Regions from separate parts of the Homo sapiens genome. Here all the other regions are linked to region 2. The links are contacts of gene promoters, found by promoter capture Hi-C in blood cells and fetal thymus (Javierre and others, 2016). All regions are on one chromosome and are shown on one strand. The core of a region is centred on a gene start or on the middle of the fragment in contact, and the rest is flanking DNA. Distances in the headings are between cores, read along the strand shown.

Region 1 (4,901 bases), core at 1,588-4,087, 350 kb after region 2:
GAGGTTGCAGTGAGCCGAAGGTTCCAGTGAGCCAAGACTGCACCACTGCACTCCATCCTGGGTGACAAAGCAAGGCTCCGTCTCAAAAATAATAATAATAATTTAAATAAATAATAAATAACCTGCTAGATTTTCATTGAACACATTGTTTCCATCTTCTATTTGTAAGTTATTTCTAGCCTTTCAACATTTAACACTTAGTTTCTTCCCAGATAGTTTTCTAAATCAGTAGCATTGGAGCGTACGTTCTCAGGGCCTTCTGAGACTGTGTCACAAGTCATGGAAAAAAAAAATTTTTTTAATTAAAAATAGCTGGGCATGGTAGCTCACACCTGTAATCCTAGCACTTAGGGAGCCAGAGAGAGGAGGAAAGCTTGAGCCCAGGAGTTCGAGACCTGCCTGGGCAACATAGCGAGACCCCATTCTCCACAAAAAAGAAAAATATAAAAAATAAAACCATTAAAAGCATTAATAATAATTTAGCCATTACCAAGAGGAAGAACAAATTCTGCTTATCAAGACAGCCATTTCCTCAATAATTTTTTAGCAATGCCTCATAAGCTGACAGCAAGTCTAGACAGCTGGCTTAGCTGCAATAGAATGAATCGGTGTTTTAAGTGTGAAGAATTTTAAAGCAAGCCAAGTAATTGTATAAAATTTAAATTTTATGATCATGTCTGGACCTTTTTACACTTAACACAATGGAAATGTTCATATTCATTTTTTTCCCCAAAGGAAAAATTTCTGAATCATCACTATGTTGCACAGTAGAATAGAAATATGAATTCAGGTACTTAGTCAAGTTTCTAAAGAATGCAAATAACAGACATGATTTAACTTCCAAAATCTGAAGTCATCAACATGATTTTGTAGTACTCTATCTCAGGTTTTACCTAAAAATTCGTTATTATTCAGATAAAGATAGCTCCCTAATCACATGTTTTTAAAAAGCCTCTGCCCCACGACAACTTCCTGAGATCTGTGAAGAAACTGCAGTCTTGTGATCAGACTCCATATAGGACTGGCAGTTTTGTAATCGTAGGGAAAAAACGGTGACTGATTTTACGTGTCAATCAGTTGTAGTCTGCTGATCTGATTAGAAGCCTTGACAAATGCCTGGTGGCGATTGCAAATAACTGCCAAGCATATAGGGATGATACAGTAGCCCACTGTTTTGGGATCAGCTCTTGTACAAGAGTATAGGAACAAAAACATCTGTAAGTAAGGTACCAGAAAAATAACTGTCCACACCCAAAAAGGCAAGGAGAGTAATTGAGCTTTCAAGGAGTGTGTCCATGTGGTTCCTTCAAGGGGCTCCTCAGGGTGCTGTTGAATGTGTTCCAAGGCCAGCCTGTTGTAAGTCTCACTGATTTCAAAAACATAGTAAAATGCTGCTGCACTGGCTAACAGATACAATCCCACTCCAATCCATCCCATCCGCTGACGGAAGTTCATCATTCTCCATGCTCTGTGCCTTCAAATTAAAAAAGAAAATACAATTAGGGTCTAGTAATGCTGTCACGGCAACTACTCCAAATGTACTTGCTTTATCTCCAAGAATTCTAGGCCGGGCGCGGTGGCTCGCGCCTGTAATCCCAGCACTTTGGGAGGCTGAGGCGGGTGGATCACGAGGTCAGGTGATAGAGACCATCCTGGCTAACATGGTGAAATCCCGTCTCTACTAAAAATACAAAAAAAATAGCCGGGCGTGGTGGCGGGCACCTGTAGTCCCAGCTACTCGGGAGGCTGAGGCAGGAGAATGGCGTGAACCCAGGAGGCAGAGCTTGCAGAGAGCCGAGATCACGCCACTGCACTCCAGCCTGGGCGACAGAGCGAGACTCTGTCTAATTAAAAAAAAAAAAAAAGAATTCTAAAATATCCCACTAACACACTTAAGATTTAAAATAATTAAATTAAACACCTATTAAGAAATGTAAAACTTACAGGTTGTTTTGTGTAATACTTACAATCAAGTAAAACAACACACACAAAAAAACAAAAAACCATTGATTTCAGTATATACTGAGTTCTGCTTTTTAACGGGAATCCCTCAGAATAAATCACTGCATCCTACTTAAACAGGTCCATAATACCCGCCCTCCAGAAACTGGAATTAAACTAGTTTCTCACAGCACATTTCACTTTGACAGGTGAAACACTTTCTGGCATAACAGTACTGCTTCAGACGTGAACGCGGGGTGCTACAAGTCAAGCCCCCAAGTTAAGACAGTAACTCCTAAGCACTTACAATGGTCCCGAAAATCTTCCTGTTCCCACGGCAAGCGTTAAAGAGTCACTCAGCTCTGAATAATCGGGTGGCTTTGGCATTTCAGAGAAAGCCAACATAAAATAAATCCCCTGGGTCACCCGGCTAGGAGAAAGGTGAGCGCCGCCAGCCTGGAGCACCAGCTACTAGTGATTAAGAACGGCGTGACTGCGGCGGGTCACGCGCGGCCCGGCCCCCGTCGCCGCCGCCGGAGACCCGCTCTGAGAACCTGACCCGGCAGGGAGGCGTCCCCGCCACTTGGGCCTCCGGGCGGCCGGCCCCGCCCCCTGCCGCGCTGCAGCGCCGGCACGCCGCGACCAAGGCTGCGCAGGCGGCGCCAGGCCCGGGCCTCGCCGCCTTGCAGCGCCGCGAGCCCAGCGCCCGTCAGCGGTCGCCGGCGGAGCCTGCTTGCAAAGCTGAGGTCCCGGATCTCACCTTCCTGTCCCGTGGTGGCCAGCCCGCCCGCCGTCCCGGATGCCGCCGCAGTCGGAGCTTCCGGCTCGGGCCGGAAGCGCGCGCGCCCCGCCCCCGAGGCCCGCCCCTCATGACGTCAGATCGCCCCCGCCCGCCGCGCAGCTTCCCCGAGCGAGACCAAAACAGGTGGAATCCGGGCTGGAGCCGGAGCTCCGGCGGCGCGGGTGGCGGCACGTCCCTCCAGGTGGGTGGCTCTCTGGGTCTGGCGACTCAGCGCTCCTCAGCCTTGCCCCCTGGTGCCCGCTCGCGACTGTCATCGCCCCATCACTTCTCGTTGCAGACAGTACCACAGGCACCTGGAGTACCGGCATCGGTCGCTGTGGCCCCCGAGTGTCCGTCAGAGCCTAGGGGAGCCTGCCCTCCCGCGCCTCGTCGGGGCCCGGCCAGGCACCTTGGCCGCCGGCGCACGGACGCGGGCACGAGCACTAGATCACGGTGAGTGGAAGCGGGCCCGACGCGGCCCTGCAGGCCCGACATCCGCCAGGCACCAGGGCTGGGAGGGGTGAGGGGCGCGCGCCGCAGTGCGGCTGCCCTGGCGTCGCCGCTGGGGGCAGGGCGCGCGGGGCTTGGGGCCTGCACGCTTGCCCTGGACGTTGGCACCTTTAGCTAACCTGTCTGCTCTGTCTTGCAGGCTGCTGGACCTCGGCACGTTGACAAGATTTCTCTGGGGTACCGCGGAGGATTACTTTGAATTTCGGTGGTCGCCTGTGGTCTGGCATATTTAGAACTTAAGTCTATTATTTCGGGCACCATGACTTTGAGGCTTTTAGAAGACTGGTGCAGGGGGATGGACATGAACCCTCGGAAAGCGCTATTGATTGCCGGCATCTCCCAGAGCTGCAGTGTGGCAGAAATCGAGGAGGCTCTGCAGGCTGGTTTAGCTCCCTTGGGGGAGTACAGACTGCTTGGAAGGATGTTCAGGAGGGATGAGAACAGGAAAGTAGCCTTAGTAGGGCTTACTGCGGAGACTAGTCACGCCCTGGTCCCTAAGGAGATACCGGGAAAAGGGGGTATCTGGAGAGTGATCTTTAAGCCCCCTGACCCAGATAATACATTTTTAAGCAGATTAAATGAATTTTTAGCGGGAGAGGGCATGACAGTGGGTGAGTTGAGCAGAGCTCTTGGACATGAAAATGGCTCCTTAGACCCAGAGCAGGGCATGATCCCGGAAATGTGGGCCCCTATGTTGGCACAGGCATTAGAGGCTCTTCAGCCTGCCCTGCAATGCTTGAAGTATAAAAAGCTGAGAGTGTTCTCGGGCAGGGAGTCTCCAGAACCAGGAGAAGAAGAATTTGGACGCTGGATGTTTCATACTACTCAGATGATAAAGGCGTGGCAGGTGCCAGATGTAGAGAAGAGAAGGCGATTGCTAGAGAGCCTTCGAGGCCCAGCACTTGATGTTATTCGTGTCCTCAAGATAAACAATCCTTTAATTACTGTCGATGAATGTCTGCAGGCTCTTGAGGAGGTATTTGGGGTTACAGATAATCCTAGGGAGTTGCAGGTCAAATATCTAACCACTTACCAGAAGGATGAGGAAAAGTTGTCGGCTTATGTACTAAGGCTGGAGCCTTTGTTACAGAAGCTGGTACAGAGAGGAGCAATTGAGAGAGATGCTGTGAATCAGGCCCGCCTAGACCAAGTCATTGCTGGGGCAGTCCACAAAACAATTCGCAGAGAGCTTAATCTGCCAGAGGATGGCCCAGCCCCTGGTTTCTTGCAGTTATTGGTACTAATAAAGGATTATGAGGCAGCTGAGGAGGAGGAGGCCCTTCTCCAGGCAATATTGGAAGGTAATTTCACCTGAGTCTCAGGGAACCACGAAGGGATATGGCAATGAGTAGAGCATGAAGGTAGAACAGTCTATATACTCTTGTGACACATACAATCCCTACCTTGTGCTGCCAAGTAACTCATTTTTGTGCAATTCTCAGTATAAGCCCTTTGTCGTTTCTGTGCCTATTTAAAGTCTCCTAAAGGTGTAATTGACTAGGAAGGATGTAGTTCTACACTGCCATTTACCTATTTAAATTCATCCTTGTGAATATCTTTGTTGTTGTTGTTGAGACAGAGTCTCGCTCTGTCACCCAGGCTGGAGTGCAGTGGCGTGATCTTGGCTCACTGCATCCTCCGCCTTCCAGGTTTAAGCTATTCTCCTGCC
Region 2 (4,413 bases), core at 842-3,341:
CAAAAAATAGGCTGATAAAACTACTTAGCTGTAAATGACAGGCTACTTTTTATGAGAAGGAAAAGATGGGCATCTCCCAGAGGGTGGGGCCTAGAGCCAAAGAGACCAGCTCCCAGGAAGCAGGACTCGCACCTAACTAAGGAACAAGTGACATGTGCCCTGTGACTTTCAGAATTTCTAAGGACTCCAGATACTCCATAAGAAATTACTCAAAATTTAGCGGCATAAAACAGCAACATTTAATTATGTTCATAGGCTCTGTGGATCAGAGATTCGGACATGACTACCTTCCTCTCATTTCCTCACTTTTTACATGAGTCTCTACTGCAGTAATCCTACCCCTGTATCACTATTGCATGTTAGCTGTGCAGGATGCAGATAACATTTCTTTCATTCACAAGTATTCAAAGCAAAAGGAAGAATACTTAAGGAGCCAAGCCCAAAAAGCCTCATCTACACCTGAACTTGATTTTGATGAGAAGATCTTGGACCTCCAGTCAGGATTTTGCAAGTGGAAAGAATGTAAATAATCTGTGACCAGAGGCGGGTTCTCCACACTCCTCCCATCAAGAAGTCAAGGATAGTTTCCCTCCCCTTGAATCTGGATGGGCTTGCAACTGCTTCAACCAATATAGCATGACAGAAATGATGCTTATAAAAGGACACGCAGCTTCCACTTGCTGCCTTGAGATGTTCTCTCTTCAGAAACTTCCTCATTAGATACTCCTCCCAGATCTCTGCCAGGATGCCATGAGACAGCCAAGCCACAGGGAGAGACCATGTTTCAGTCTTGAGTCAATGGCGCTGGCTTAGCCTAGTCTTCAAGTCACCCCATCCCAGAGCCCAAACGTATGATCTAGAAACCTCTAGATAATTAAAACCCTCAGCATTCAAGTCTTCCCAGATGAAGCCCCAAACATCATCAAACAGAGACAAGCTATCTCCATCATGCCCTGTCCGAATCTCTGATCCACAGAGTCTATGAACATAACTAAATGTTGCTGTTTTACGATGTAAATTTTGAGCAATTTCTTATGGAGTATCTGGATACACTGCATATGATAATATCTGGAATACCGACTAAAAGTCAACCTGCTTTATTACCACATGCCATCAATTCTAAACAATGTCAGCAATAAAATACATTTCCCCAAAAATAATCTTCAGTTGATCGAAGTTCTAAATAATTGCTAGGATTCCTACTAAGTTTTGATAATATATTTGAAAGGCCTCAACCCATGTGGATTCAGCTCATTCATTTCCAAACTAAACTAGAGAGGCTTCCCTTAGATGGAGATTCAGCTGGACATGTTTTCAAATGTTCACTCCAACCACTTTGCTTCACTGCTTTGAATTTTAAACACATAGAAATAACTCCAAGTGGTCTCACAAAATCACAGAATTGAAATAATCAAGGTCTGTCTCTTCATCTTTCCAATCACGATGCTATCATTGCTTATTTCAAATATACCATTCAGGGAATATGCAGTACAAAGAGGTAGAATACAAACTACCCAGGGCAAGCTCATACAATTCTGAACTGTTATGAACTTAATGGAAATTCTCCAAATTAATGTCTGTGTAAAACACAATGTTTATTAAAGGATAAGCAATAAAAATGTGCTAATTTGAAGCTTGTTACTAAAAATAAGTTTGTCATATAAAGAGGGAAGTGTTAAAAAATGATCTACCCTGGGTGTCAAATATGTTACGTATGTCCCCAGAGCCAAAACATGCTGATTTAGAAAATAGAACTGTTTGAAATCCTGGTCCCACAAGCTTAGAAACGATTCTCAAAGTAAGAATGGCCTCAGGATAAAGATCAAAGGAAGAATATGGTCTATGACTCTAAGATCCTTTGTTAAGGCTTCAGAAAGTTATAAGGCGATGTCTAATTGAGGCTCTCAGCTATAACAGGGCTTCTAATAATTTTAAGGGCACACTGAAACGCCCAAAATATAGGAAGGACTGCCTCAAAAATCATTATAGATGTGGCTTTGGGGGCTCAGGACCCCAATGAGATTCACTAAAAATCCACAAAGTTTTTAAGAAAGTCATACTAGCAAAAGCACCACCAGCTAAAACTAAAGAGACGCAGTTCTAAATGAAAAGAGATATATGGGACCCTAACTCCTACATGCACGAAGCAGATTGAGAAAGTTACTCAGCTGCAACATGGACCATTTCTTATTGAAAAGAAAAGATGTCTCAGAGAGTGGAGCCAAGAGCTCAGGAGGACAAGAACAGATTAGGGAACTATTTCTAGGAAACAAAACCAGATCATAATCAAGGCATGTATGCTATTCCTGGAGACAGAGGAACTGTTGATGTGTTTATGGCTGGAGCTGCTATAGACCAATGACTGCTATCTGCTTTCCCTTCCTCTTTTTGAACAGAAGCTTATTGCTATGATCCTGTCCCTGTCTCAACATTGTGTCTTGGGTGCAGAGAGGGAAGATAACTTTCCTTCTTAGTTCACAGGACTCTGAATCAAGAGAATCAGTTACCAAGAAGTTTAATCAGTGACATATCACATGCAGATCACAAGATACTAGACTTTAAGCCTGAAGCCATAAATGAATAAGACTTGTGGAGGTCATATAAAATGGTGAGCATATTTTGCATATGGAAAGAAGGTAAATAATTATGTCCAAAGGACAGATTGTGGTAGATTAAATGTGACCATAAAATTCTTGCCAATCCTTCAATAACCACAAAGATCCTATTTCTCCACTCTTTGAATCTGGGCCGGCCTTGGAACTTGCTTTGACCTGTTGAATGCTACAGAAATGATGCTGTGTGACTTCTGAGAGGCCTTGAGTGAGTGAGGCTCTCTCACTCTCTCAGAAGACTGCCACCTGTGAACAAGTCCAGCCTAGCCCCTGGACGATGAGACATCATGTGGAAAGAGAGGCCCAGACACCCCACCCATCTCACCATTCCAGCCATCCCAGCTTAGCCCCAGATATGGGAGTGAGACCATCTGGGGCCAGCCAATTCCAGCTTACCCACCAACTGACTGCAAATACATGAGTGAGCCTAGAGTAATTTATCAAAAGAACTGCTTAGCTGAGCTGAGCATAGGACAAATTGCCAATCCACAGAATTGTGATTAAATAATTGGTTGCCATATGAGACACTATGTTTTCAGATGGTTTGTTATGCATCCATAGATAACTGAGACAGCCCTCCAATATACCTACTCACAATCAACATCCCAAAAAGTTTAAATGATGTGTGCAAGGTCCACATAGGTAGGAGGGAACAGAACTGGCCAGAGTCCAAGAATCTCAACCAACTAGTCAAAAATTCTTTTTTATGACATCATACTGCCTCCTCTTACTCTTTTCAATTATTAAAACAAGAAGAGAAGATGGAGGTGGTTTAGAGAAACTATTATTAAAAAAAAACTAAAGGAAATATTAAAGGAAGAATCTTTAGCTACATGTATTGTTCAACTTACACATAAATACTTTCCATATACAGTCAGTCTGGGTATGTTTTTCACACATACAAATTGGACTATTTGCACTCCACTTCAAAACAATTGAGATTTCTAGCATACAAGATATATCCTTAACTAAAGTTAAGTACCATAAATTGCAGTATAATTCAAACCTTTTTCTAATTGGACTCCTATCCCAGAATTACACATAGGCTTTTATTGCAAATTACTGAACAAAAGCATTGTGCATAAGATGGGTGAGCAAAAGCAGAAATGGAAATAGAGACCATTTGGATGTAGCAATCTTGCATGCTAAATTATTTCCTTTACCCCTCCACAAATACAATGGCATGCATATACTGGAAACCACGGTGCAGAAATGAGGCAGATGTCAATAAATGAATTTACATACAAACACAATAAATCATGCCCCAACGACACAAATGGTTTGCTCTTACCTTTTTCTGACATATAGCAGATATTTCAGCTGTAAGGGGAAGGCACACAAAATATCAACAAAGAAAGAGAGCCCCTCTAATTTTTATTTAATTAATTAATTTATTTTTTGAGACAGTGGCTCACTCTGTCAATCAGGCTGGAGTGCAATGGCACCATCATAGCCCACCACAGCCTCTTGAACGCCTTGGCTCAAGTGATCCTCCTGACTCGCCTTCTAAGCAGCTAGGCAGTGGTGTGGGCTTCCATGCCCAGCTAATTTTTTTTTTTTTTTTTTGTAGACATGGGGTCTTACTATGTTTCTCAGGCTGTTCTTCAACTCCTGGCCACAAGCAACCCTCCTGCCTTGACCTCCCTCCAAAAGGCTAGGATTACAGGTGTAAGCCACCATGCCAGGTCTAGAGCCCATTTAAAATAAGGGCAGCCATGAAGGGGGAATCTTTTAAATCTTAGTAATATGACCTCTGGACTTGGCCCAAACAGATTTTCACTTGGCTCATAAATTATCGTCT
Region 3 (4,792 bases), core at 930-3,429, 420 kb after region 2:
TCCATGTTGGTCAGGCTGGCCTCGAACTCCTGATCTCAGGTGATCCGCCTGCTTCGGCCTCCCAGCGCCCAGCCTCATCCCGTGTTTCTAATCAATGGCTTGTGTCCATTTTCCTCTGCCACACACTGGGCTCTCGTGTGTTTGCCAAAGGAGTGAGGGAATTCCAGGAACCCTCCTGAACCACCCAGCCTCAACTGGTCTTTCAGTTCCTAAGAACAGCAGGACATTTAAAGTCGATGCCTGTAATCCCTACTGCTGACTTCAAGTATCAAGTTTATAGTTGCTGCCCCCATCCCCTTCGTTTTTACTCCCTTAGCCGCCTTCTTTTTTTTTTTTTTTTTTTGAGACGGAGTCTCACTCTGTTGCCCAGGCTAGAGTGCAGTGGCACGATCTCAGCTCACTGCCAGCTCTGCCTCCCAGGTTCACGCCATTCTCCTGCCTTAGCCTCCCAAGTAGCTGGGACTACAGGCGCCCGCCACCACGCCCGGCTAATTTTTTGTATTTTTAGTAGAGACAGGGTTTCACCGTGTTAGCCAGGATGATCTCAATCTCCTGACCTCATGATGTGCCCACCTCGGCCTCCCAAAGTGCTGGGATTACAGGCATGAGCCACCATGCGCAGCCTCCCTTAGCCTTCTTTTATCCATCTTGTGCCTCGGCCCTAGGGGTCCTTGCTATGATCTTCCCTTTATCCAGCTTTCCATGTCCCCCCCAGGAGCCAGGCATTCTAAGCCACAGAGCTGACCCTGGAACCTGTCACCACTTACCTTCTAGGCTCCCATGGCCTATGAAACTCGCAGTACCCTTGCCTAAGGCATGCAGTGCCCGTCCCTAGCTGGCCCCCTGGAGGAGTCCTGTTTCCCACCCATCGTCTTTTCCACTCTCCATCCATCCGTTTTCTCTACCTTGTTAAAGAAAAAAACTAATCAGATTCTCGTTAAAGATGGCAGGGAAGCCAGGCGGGGTGGCTCAGGTCTACAATCCCAGCACTTTGGGAGGCCCAGGTGGGAGGACAGCTTGAGGCCAGGAGTTCGAGACCTGCCTGGGCAACACAGTGTAGTCCCAGCTGCTCGGGAGGCTGAGGTGGGAGGATCAGTTTAGCAGGGGTGTTCGAGGCTGCAGTGAGCTATGACTGCACCATTGCACTCCAGCCTGGGCAGCATAGAGAGATCCTTGTCTTTCTTTTTTTTTTGAGACGGAGTTTCTTAATGTAGGCCGGCCAGGGTGATCACATACCAAGCGTGGAGATATTCTTGACAGCAGGATTCTGGCTAAAACTGGACTAAGAAGGCCAAGGACAGAGCCCAAGGTCGGGGCCTGGTCAGAAAGAGGTCTCGGAGGAGCCTGACTCAAGTGTGATCAAGGGAAGTCTTGGTCACCCGCTGGCAACTTGGCTTTTTCTTGTCTCCCAGCCTCAATTCAAGCTCATCCCCCTTCCCTGCTCCATCAAAATCTCCTTGATTTCCAAGGCCAGCTTCAGTGTCTCCTCTCAAACTTTTCTGAGCCTTCCCTCCACGGGAATCCATTTTTCCTGCCTGGGCCTGGGGAGAGAAGTCCATTTCTCCTTCCCAAACCCAGAGACCATTGAGGCAGGAAAGCTCCCTGGCTGCCCCATAGGGCAGGGCAGGGTAGGCGGGGTTTAGTGACTCCCCGGCGCCGACGCTGACCCGCACCCCTGAGGAAGGGGTCTCCGGGGACGGCCGCTGTTGTCGCTGTCGCCTCCAGTCCCCGCCCCTTCCCCCCTCAGTGAAGGGGACCTAGAGTGAGAACTGGTGGTCACGTCCTACGCCTAGGAGGGCCCCTGGGTGTTCACCCACCCCCCCGGGGGGCCCCATCCTGGGCCAGGGTCCGCTTCCTCGAGGGAAGGGGCGAATTCCTGGAAGGTCTCCTTCCGGGCGCAGTTGCAATGGATTGCCTTGGGGGTGCTGAACCCTGCTGGGGGTACAGAGACGTTTCCGAAACTCAGCGGCTCGGTCGCCCCCAAAGGCCAGGCGGAACACACGCCCACACCGCGGCTCCCTTCCCGAAGTAAGACCGCCGGGCCACGGCCGCCCCCAGGAAGCCCCGCGCCCCGCACCCCACACCCGGGGACACAAACAGGCGCCGGGTAGCCGCGAGGGCCGGCGCGGCGCCTTTAAGAGGCGGCGGGCGGCGCTGCCCCCTGGCGGCCGCCCCGCCGCTTCCTCGCCGCCGCGGGCTCAAGCGGGGCGGCCGGGCCAGCGCGGGGCGGCGGCGGGCAGGGGCGGCGAGTGCGCGGGCGCTCGCCGCCGCCCTTCTCGGCGGGCAGCGCGCGAGGACCAGGCCGAGGAGGAAGTGGCGGCGGCGGCGGCGGGTGAGGATCTCTGGCCGGGCCGAGTGGCCGCGTGCGCCCCGCCGGGGTCCAAGCGCGCCCAGGGGTTACGGCCCGGCTGGGAACATCAGAGGGCGAGGACCCGGGCGGGAGGAGGAGGGAGGAAGGGCTCGGAGGCCGCGCTTCTGCCGCCGCCTGAGGGCGTGTGGCTCGGGCCCGCGCGGCGGGAGGGCGGGCAGGGCGGGGGCGGTGTCTGCGGAGGCCCGGCTTCCCCTCCTGCGGGCCCTGGCCCCAGCTCCGACTCAGACTCAGGCTCAGCCGTGCCCCAGCCTCAGCCGGCAGGCCGGGCGGCGCGGCGCTCGCGAGCCGGTGGGCGGGCGGGCGAGCCCGCAGGCGGCGGGGGCGTGGGCGGTGGCAGCTTGGCCCAGCCAGTGGCCTTCCGCGCTGAGCGCCGCTCCCTCCTCCCGGCCGCCCGCCGCGCCCCGCCCCGCTCCGCTCCGCGCGGCAGGACTGCGCGCCCCAGCTCCGATCCCCGTTCCGCGTCCCCGCCGCCGGGAGGAGGTGCCCACTCGCTCGCGGCGCGCGCCGGCCGCCAGACTCGGCCTGTGGGCGATTTCCTCCGGACCCAGGCTCCCCGCCCGAGGAGGAAGATGCAGACCTTTCTGAAAGGGAAGAGAGTTGGCTACTGGCTGAGCGAGAAGAAAATCAAGAAGCTGAATTTCCAGGCCTTCGCCGAGCTGTGCAGGTAAGGAGGGACGCGGCGCCGGCGCCCGGGGACCCCCGGCCCGAGCCCGGTGACCCCCGGCCCGAGCCCGGTGCAGCCTCATTAGTTGTTTTGGGAGATCGGAGCCAAACGGGAAGAAGCGGCGCGCGGGGAGACTGAGTCCGAGCAGCCAGGTGGCGGTGGCGGCCGCCGGCCGCGTTCCAGGGAAGCGGTGGCCGGTGCGGGCGAGGTGGCACGGACCGGGGCGTTCAGGTGCACTGTGACCCGGCTGGGGAGGCCCCCAGCAGCCCAGGGCGCGGTGGGAGTTCTACTGAGGGTTGCGGAGGGACCTGGGAAATCGGGGCATCCACGCTGTGGGGTAAGGGCTTGAGGGTACTTTTGGACCGGAGTGTTTTTCTTCCTTCGTCCCCTTCCCTTTCATGAAGAAAGGGCACCCACGTTTGTGGACCACCTACTATGTGCCCCGCGTGTGCTCGGCTCTTGAGGCTGTCATTGCATATCATGAGGTTAAGCCCAGTTGAAGCGAGTAGCAATTCTTGGCATGTATGTGGTGATTTGCTGTCTCATTAGAGCCTCGCAGCAGCCCTGCAAATTGGCCAGGGTGGTGATTCTGGGCCACCTGTCTGAGAACGGGGACCGATCGGCAGAGGAGCGGGGTACCTAGCTTGGGGTCCCGCAGCTAGGGAGTGGCTGGTGCGTAGAAAGTGCTGGGTAAATGCCCGTGGTGTGGAGTGGCCTTCTGCCATCTGGGCTGTGTGCCCCTGCTCCCACCATGCTGGTGCTCCTTGGCGGAGTCTCCGGTGTTTAACAGATCACGTTCTTAATAAATTACAGAACTACTGAGTCTTGGGTCAGGTAGGCCTTCCCTTGCTCCACAACTGTAGCTTTGCCTCTGAGAAGCAGTTAAGCCCTTTTCTCAATGCAAGCCTAAGAGAATCTAGCTCTGAAAGCCTTTTGCAAACTCCAGGTGGAAACCTTTTGTGATGCAGCTTGTTAGACTGATTTTTGAAAATGGGCTCTACTTGCATTTTTGTCCCTGTGGGGGCCCCACACATCTTGGAGAATTGAACAGTTGGGTTTCCGTAACCCCTGGTGCTCCTGGGGGCCCGTGGCTGGTCTGAGCTGGCATGCGCAGGTGAGCCTGGCAGCACCTCTGTGTGCCTCATGCCTTTCCCAAGGGCCTGCTGCTCCTTTGCCCCGTGCAAGCCCCGCAGGCGCTCTTCCTGCAGCCAGAGGGGCACAGCTTGTACAGGATAGTGCCTGGTTCTTTATCCCTTGGTCTGGGGATGGGGTTGGCTGCCTTCTCCCAGGCCGGTTTCCCTAGAAGACAGGCTCTTCATGATCAATAGGGCATGCAGAGTGGCCCCAGCAATTCATGAAGAAATCAGGAGGAGCTCGAAGCCAGAGCTTTGAAAATGAGTCTTAGGACCCTTGGAACATTACAAAAGGGTACTTGAACGTTGTACCGCGGATACACTCACTTGTGGGAAGGGCATTCTAAGACACTAAAGAAATTTGGAGCAGCTGCTTTGGCATGTTCTCGAAGTCCAGTTCTGATGTGAGGCACCGGAGCTCCCCCTGCAGTCATGTAAGACTTGGGAAATCCCAGCGAATACCTCGCACCCTTTGTACTGCTGTCTGTATTTATGTCATCTTGTGTCTGCAACTCAAGCTTGAGGCTTGTCATTGGGTTGGCTTGTTTTGCTTGGTAATTAGGAGGCTCTCGCAAAATATTCTTCGCCGAGACTCACAACTAGGTCCTCGTGCTGGACCTGCAG

What was found. Contacts are between HindIII fragments. The CHiCAGO score rates a contact against its expected background, and 5 or more counts as called.
Region 1: a contact is called between the fragment with the promoter of MOAP1 here and a fragment that was not itself captured in region 2, in 4 of 17 cell types (M2 macrophages, M0 macrophages, M1 macrophages and 1 more). The highest score is 9.4, in M2 macrophages.
Region 3: a contact is called between the fragment with the promoter of ITPK1 here and a fragment that was not itself captured in region 2, in 2 of 17 cell types (M2 macrophages and M0 macrophages). The highest score is 5.3, in M2 macrophages.

Annotation. Positions count from the first base shown.
Region 1 is chr14:93,182,833-93,187,733 of GRCh38, reverse strand. MOAP1 (modulator of apoptosis 1) reads left to right here and starts at 2,837. Exons shown (of 3, transcript NM_022151.5): 1 at 2,837-2,924; 2 at 3,021-3,175; 3 at 3,372-4,901. The coding sequence starts at 3,492. The coding sequence ends at 4,547. It overlaps LYSET (lysosomal enzyme trafficking factor), which reads right to left and starts at 2,417. Exons shown (of 2, transcript NM_001098621.4): 1 at 2,249-2,417; 2 at 1-1,474. The coding sequence starts at 2,328. The coding sequence ends at 1,063. The HindIII fragment of the contact is 7,901 bases long and covers 376-4,901 here.
Region 2 is chr14:93,532,069-93,536,481 of GRCh38, reverse strand. UNC79 (unc-79 subunit of NALCN channel complex) reads right to left here. Exons shown (of 52, transcript NM_001395159.1): 11 at 3,904-3,932. Among named protein-coding and RNA genes, the nearest start is that of UNC79, 100 kb to the right of the region's middle. The HindIII fragment of the contact is 620 bases long and covers 1,782-2,401 here.
Region 3 is chr14:93,113,312-93,118,103 of GRCh38, reverse strand. ITPK1 (inositol-tetrakisphosphate 1-kinase) reads left to right here and starts at 2,179. Exons shown (of 11, transcript NM_014216.6): 1 at 2,179-2,332; 2 at 2,799-3,035. The coding sequence starts at 2,941. The HindIII fragment of the contact is 12,611 bases long and covers 1-4,688 here.